Regions from separate parts of the Homo sapiens genome. Here region 1 is linked to region 2. The links are contacts of gene promoters, found by promoter capture Hi-C in human tissues and cell types (Jung and others, 2019). All regions are on one chromosome and are shown on one strand. The core of a region is centred on a gene start or on the middle of the fragment in contact, and the rest is flanking DNA. Distances in the headings are between cores, read along the strand shown.

Evidence for each region. The method cuts DNA at HindIII sites, captures the fragments that hold promoters and counts their contacts. A contact is called where the count stands out against the background at its distance.
Region 1: a contact is called between a fragment that was not itself captured here and the fragment with the promoter of CD93 in region 2, in 2 of the 25 tissues and cell types used here (heart right ventricle and thymus).

What each region holds. Positions count from the first base shown.
Region 1 is chr20:22,323,927-22,327,497 of GRCh38, reverse strand. No RefSeq gene overlaps it. Among named protein-coding and RNA genes, the nearest start is that of LINC01427, 43 kb to the right of the region's middle. The HindIII fragment of the contact is 4,978 bases long and covers 1-3,571 here.
Region 2 is chr20:23,084,755-23,088,445 of GRCh38, reverse strand. It overlaps CD93 (CD93 molecule), which reads left to right and starts at 2,122. Exons shown (of 2, transcript NM_012072.4): 1 at 2,122-3,691. The coding sequence starts at 2,254. RefSeq lists enhancers at 292-431, 1,959-2,138. The HindIII fragment of the contact is 11,168 bases long and covers 1-3,691 here.

The DNA of each region.
Region 1 (3,571 bases), core at 145-2,644, 760 kb after region 2:
CACATCCATGCACATGTTCTACATGTTCTATTTTTTTAATTTCTCCCAAAGACCATCACCCATTTCTACTTATTGAAATCTTGTCTGCATTTTAAAGTCCAGTTTAAGTGAACTTCACCCACAAAGTTGACCCAGATCCTCATCTTTCTAAATTTCTTGAGCTCTTAGCTGCAGGTACCCTCAAATCACATCCAGTCCATCTGGTTCCCACCCAGACCAACTGAACCCAGTCTCCCGGGGTAGGCTCTGGAGCCTGCAGGGTAATTCATACACAGGTGATTTCAATGAGCTGCCAGGGTTAGAAACCTCAGGACTAGTCCGTGTCCTCATTTTAGGTATGAAGAGATAGAAGCTCAGAGAGCTGAGGGTTCCATGGCAATAACGGTGGAGGTAGGAATTGAGAGCAGGAGCCTAGTCCACAATTTAGTGCCCTTTCTACCTCGCCTGACATACCAATATCAATGCCAAGTCAGTTACTGCCATCACAATACCAATAGAACTATATCAAAAGCTTACAGAGGCATAGAACATTTAAGGCACTCATGAATTTTGCAAGATCTCAGTAGAATTCAAAATAATAATGACAATGTTATGGCCCAATATGACCTAATACTGGAGATAATATAATATACAATAAGATCAAAGAATTCTAAGAACAGAATGGAACAACCACAAAAAAAGATAAAGCCCAGGAACATCTTCAAGGTAGGCATAATCATCAACCAGCCAGTCTCCATCTTTGATAAGCCAGGGTGGAGATGTAATTATGTGCAGAAGAAAGGATCTGGTCCATGCATAAGTAGAATCAGCCTGGTGGTAGAATGGGTAGAACAGGGCTTCCCTTGAAATGGAGTTATTTATGTTTTCAGTTTATTTATCATGATTTAAATGTAGTCCTGTTGCAAGAAAGAATTCATTTTTTAAAAATAATTTAAGATTCCTTTGACCTCAGGTAAGGGTTTCTTATAGAAAAATACTGCACATTCTGTTTTATTCATATGAAGCAAGTGCAAATTTCCAAAGTGTTTCCAATTTATTTGGGACTTTTTCTGAAAGAAAAGTTAATTGACTGAAGGGCAAGTTGTTGCATGAACCTCTCTGTAGACTCCACTGGGCCACATGGCTTTGCATGTTCCATAGCAGCCAACCAAGCCTGGCTTCTAATATCCATGTAGAGGGGTTAGTTGTCCCCCACACTGTGATATATGAGGAAAGATGAAAATATACATTTACTCAGCTCTTCCTTGTCAGACATTTACATATAAGTGACTTTTGTTCACACACACATTCACTCACTTATCCACCATTAGTTTTATTAAACAATTTTTTTTTGAGAATCTATGATGTAGAAACATTGTGTGAAAATAATACAGGCAAGACCCCCATCCCCACCTTGCTTATAAACTTACACTAGTAATGATTTACCACACCTCTGCTAAGTATTACCAGGAGCAGTGCAGGGTGCCATGGGAGCAGGTAACCAGGAGGCCTGGCCCACTGCAGGGATCAGGGGAAACTGCATGGAGGTGAGGGATTTGCAATAAACTGAAAGATGGACAGAATTAACTGGGTGGAGAGTAGAGTGGGTGCTGTTGGTTTGTAAGAGCACTCCTTAGGAACGGTGATGATGGTCTCTTCAGGAACCCTGCTCCCGCCATCTGGTTTCCCCATGAGAACCATATTTCTATGACCATCTTGACCACTGAGTGATAATCTTAGGAATTCTAGGGGTTAGAAGGGAACTGTTCTCAAATATATACCTCATTTTTCCCATTTATAATCTTGCTATCACAGCTACGCACATCAAGAGACTTCCAGTTTCTTGGATGGAATGCTTTGAATTGATTTACTTGCTTGTGGAAAGGTGGTATAGAGAACAACTTAATATTTCTCAACTAGACAAGATTCCATTTGTTCCAGTCTGTCCTTACATGTTGTATAAATGTAATACTAAATGGCCTGACTTTTAAAGTTTTATGAAGGAGGGGGAAAGTATCACTATGATAGTTAACACCACCTGTTTACTCAGGCATTATATTAACAGGCAACTCTTAGCCTCCGATGAACATGAAGGTATCTGATTAACTTGGGCATTGACCAAACCTCCTAGGACAGATTTGGGAAATTCAGTTGTAGACAACTGGCTTTGAGAATAACTGATTACCTGTAGACCTATTTGGAATAATCTTTCTTGGTGTGATATCCTAAGGATCCAGACAAGACTTGGTAAATTTGGGTGCCATCAAAGTTACAAAATCAATGAATCCAAATTTTGTGAGGCTTATTATAATCTGCCTAATGCTTCCATCCAGTTCCCCCCTGTGGGTAGAGTCCATGAAGCAGAGTCTACTTTATCAATGTTCGCCTGGGCACAAGTGCCAGTGTGGATGTGGGTGACTTTGAGATTTATGTGTCTGTGAGCTGAATAAATGTGGGAAAAGGCAGGAGCAAGGTGTTGAACACAGGGGCCCCCATCACTATTACTTAGGAGTGGGTGCTCTCACAAACGAACACCATCCACTCCACAGCACCACTAAGGCCATACCCGACCAATGCACCAATTTCTGGGGCATCAAGGTTTCAGGTCTTGATGAAAGCTTTAGAATCACCTCTTTTTAATTCAGGTGACTGATGGATTCTCTAGCTTCAAGAGAAGTCCAATTTCCAGTTGGTTAACTTGAGATAGAAAAGTGTGTTATTCTAACCTTACCCCAAGGTCCTGAACACACAAGTCCTTCTTTCTCCTTTCTGAATCATAAATGTGCTCCACACCCTCAATTCTCATATGAGAGATCCATGACTGTGCAGCCACCCATAACATAATCTTGTTCCAAATCCACAGCTGCTTTTGTTCTTGGCAAAACTAAGGCCTGTTTGAGTACGATGTAAGACATAACTGCTCCCTGCGTTCTTTTTGTTTCACTTTGAAGATGTTGGCCTGATAGCAACTCCCACCCCAAGATGCAAATTGGAAATATAAGAAATAAGGCTACTTCATCCACACACCAAAACAAAGAAGGCAAAAGAAATTTCAAATTAAAACAGGAAAGGCAAAACTTTTTTTCATTGTTCTAAATAATGAGCATTTTGACACTTTTTAGACTCATCTTTAATGCATTTTTTAAAAAACTAATCAAATGTTAAAAAGTTTTAACAATTATTATAGGCACAACAATAAACGAATACATTCCTAACAAGATGAAAATGTTCTGTCCTAGGGCAGCCTGGTAATGTAAGATTGTGTTGATTGTGCTTCATCTCAGCTGTGGGAGTCACTGCGCTTGGTAAATGGGATGCCAAGATAGAGGAGATGCTTAGGTACATTTTGAATTTGTTGTTTGAAAATATTACTCAAAGAAATTCCGTAAGATGAAAACAAAAATACCATTATATTGAATGTCTTCACTCACACCACATTTTGCAAAATCGCTACCTAAATTACATACATTTGCAAAATTTTAATAACGATGATCAAAAAGTACAACACTGGATTCACTTTACTCATTTTTCTTTCAAGTATTTTTGTATAGTTTCTTTTCTTTTCATCTTTTTTTAGAGTTTTCAACTCTTA
Region 2 (3,691 bases), core at 873-3,372:
AAGGCACATTCTTAGGAGGTATCCAGCTGGAGTCAGAGATGCCTCCTTGTCCCTTGGGGAGCCAGCGAGCTCCTAGCCCCCGGGACAACTCAACATCTCCATGGAGGCCACTGTGGTGGTCGCTGGTGCCGGGTCCACAGGCGTTCACTGTGTTCTCCACCGTGGCGCTTCTTCCCCTGGGGCCCTCACGGTCAGTGCAGAGCACCAAAGAGTTGCCGCTGTGTAGAGAATTCTTATAATTGTGCATTGCATCCATTTTGAATCTAATTTGGACCCTCTCCTACCAGAAGCAGGGTTTATTGCTCTTGACACGGTGTCTAGGGCTCCACCCCCTCCCAGTTCCTCAATGCGGCCAACCCAGATATCTGCCTTGTACACCCACCTCCTGGTGACCATTTCCCTGTGGGACAGGCAGATACAGCCCATTTGATGGTCTCAGTGACTCCACACCCCACAGGGACTTCCCAGACATGCCGCCATGCCCACCTCTCAGCCACAGGGACCCCACGGAGCCCGTGTCTGTTTGCTCTAAACCCACCAGTGAGAAGTCCCCTTGGGAAACCTGCTTGGGAAACGTCCTGGACCCCAATAAAGGCTTAGGACCCAGGTCTCTCTCTCTCCCTTCACCCCCCTCCAGGTGAGTGTTTGTGACCCAGACAGCTCCCCACTTTTTGCTGGCCCCGTGGGGTGCACTGCCCTCTCCCTGGGATCTGTAAGTGACACGGTGCTTGTGTTGCTTCCTGTGTCTTCTTGTGCTGCCTCCTGCATCTCCCCTGACCCACACCCCAACCCAACTCTCCTCCCATCAGGGATCTCTTAGGAAGTGGCTGTCTTGATAGGAATAAACTGGACATGGGTCAGACGAGAGCCACAAGGGTGTCTGTCCATAGAAACAAGTTTTATGTGAGAGAGACCCCTGGTCACTGGGCAGGGCTAGAATTTATAGTCAGTCTCTCAAAGTGAGAGATACAGCCTGCTACCAATGACAGGGGACTTGGAGAGCAGTGGAGCCTCTCCCTCAGCTGAGATGGTGCTGAGGTGTGGTCCCCTCAGGCCCCCAGAGTTTCCTGGCACTGGCTCCAGCAGCCCAGGGTCACCTTCTCAGCAAGTCATCATGGGTTGGCTTCCTCCTTGTCTGTTTCACTTCCCCTCCCACATAAACTAGTCTCCCCAAATCCTGTCTCAGGGTCCCCTCCTGGGGGATCCCAACCAATGAGCAAAGGTCTGTGGCTGCAGGAAAAGCACACTGTGAGTCCCTGGCTTTTGCCGAGTCGCGGTGTCGCGGGAGGGCCTGCCCGGGCTTCGATTCCCGCTCCCTGCCCAGATTTCCGGCCCTTGCTAGGAATCCTGAGCCGGGGGAAGTGAGCCTGCAAGCCCTGCGCCACGAGGCCGGACACATTTTCATTTTCTTTCTGATGCTTTTTGTGACCCTGACACCTCACAATGCAATATTTCCACTATGAAACCCCCAGAACTGCCAAATTTCACCCAATTTGGATTAACATTATCGAGGAGCTTGGCATTATGTTGAAAACCCAGACATTCCCACGACCCGTATCCTATTTAAAAAATGCCTGTCTATTTAAGGTTCACGATGGGAGGATAAAAGAAAAAAGGCTCCCAAAGTCAACAGAGAACATGAGCTAGGCAAAAGGAAAGTCCAGTTTGCTTCTAAAAAAGGCTGAAAATTATAACCATCCATGGCCTTGTGTCTTAAGTCTCAGAATTTTTTTTTTCTCTTTTGGTGGTTTGCAAACCAAAGTGGAATTTTATTATGGGTTACTAAGGGAGCTTCCTCGAGTTCCTAGCCCCCAAAGCCCCTGCTCACTCCATGGCATGCCTCCGAGGCTCCTCATGCCATGAGAAAGAGAATGGAGCCAAAATCAAGCCGGCAGTATCTCGGGGCTGTAACGTCTTCCCCCCGTCGCTGTTTCCACAGTGCTGAGCCAGGGACCCGGCAGAGCTGCCTGACTCCTTTTATGAACAACAGCACCGTGATGAAGGCAGCAGGAGTCAGAGAACTATTCATTGCAGGAAGCCCCAACATCCGGTGAGAAATAAGAAGTACAACAGTACAGGATGCGCCTTGGGTCAGGGGGACGTGGAAAGCCCTCAGCCTTTGTGTCCTTCTCTGCGCCGGAGTGGCTGCAGCTCACCCCTCAGCTCCCCTTGGGGCCCAGCTGGGAGCCGAGATAGAAGCTCCTGTCGCCGCTGGGCTTCTCGCCTCCCGCAGAGGGCCACACAGAGACCGGGATGGCCACCTCCATGGGCCTGCTGCTGCTGCTGCTGCTGCTCCTGACCCAGCCCGGGGCGGGGACGGGAGCTGACACGGAGGCGGTGGTCTGCGTGGGGACCGCCTGCTACACGGCCCACTCGGGCAAGCTGAGCGCTGCCGAGGCCCAGAACCACTGCAACCAGAACGGGGGCAACCTGGCCACTGTGAAGAGCAAGGAGGAGGCCCAGCACGTCCAGCGAGTACTGGCCCAGCTCCTGAGGCGGGAGGCAGCCCTGACGGCGAGGATGAGCAAGTTCTGGATTGGGCTCCAGCGAGAGAAGGGCAAGTGCCTGGACCCTAGTCTGCCGCTGAAGGGCTTCAGCTGGGTGGGCGGGGGGGAGGACACGCCTTACTCTAACTGGCACAAGGAGCTCCGGAACTCGTGCATCTCCAAGCGCTGTGTGTCTCTGCTGCTGGACCTGTCCCAGCCGCTCCTTCCCAGCCGCCTCCCCAAGTGGTCTGAGGGCCCCTGTGGGAGCCCAGGCTCCCCCGGAAGTAACATTGAGGGCTTCGTGTGCAAGTTCAGCTTCAAAGGCATGTGCCGGCCTCTGGCCCTGGGGGGCCCAGGTCAGGTGACCTACACCACCCCCTTCCAGACCACCAGTTCCTCCTTGGAGGCTGTGCCCTTTGCCTCTGCGGCCAATGTAGCCTGTGGGGAAGGTGACAAGGACGAGACTCAGAGTCATTATTTCCTGTGCAAGGAGAAGGCCCCCGATGTGTTCGACTGGGGCAGCTCGGGCCCCCTCTGTGTCAGCCCCAAGTATGGCTGCAACTTCAACAATGGGGGCTGCCACCAGGACTGCTTTGAAGGGGGGGATGGCTCCTTCCTCTGCGGCTGCCGACCAGGATTCCGGCTGCTGGATGACCTGGTGACCTGTGCCTCTCGAAACCCTTGCAGCTCCAGCCCATGTCGTGGGGGGGCCACGTGCGTCCTGGGACCCCATGGGAAAAACTACACGTGCCGCTGCCCCCAAGGGTACCAGCTGGACTCGAGTCAGCTGGACTGTGTGGACGTGGATGAATGCCAGGACTCCCCCTGTGCCCAGGAGTGTGTCAACACCCCTGGGGGCTTCCGCTGCGAATGCTGGGTTGGCTATGAGCCGGGCGGTCCTGGAGAGGGGGCCTGTCAGGATGTGGATGAGTGTGCTCTGGGTCGCTCGCCTTGCGCCCAGGGCTGCACCAACACAGATGGCTCATTTCACTGCTCCTGTGAGGAGGGCTACGTCCTGGCCGGGGAGGACGGGACTCAGTGCCAGGACGTGGATGAGTGTGTGGGCCCGGGGGGCCCCCTCTGCGACAGCTTGTGCTTCAACACACAAGGGTCCTTCCACTGTGGCTGCCTGCCAGGCTGGGTGCTGGCCCCAAATGGGGTCTCTTGCACCATGGGGCCTGTGTCTCTGGGACCACCATCTGGGC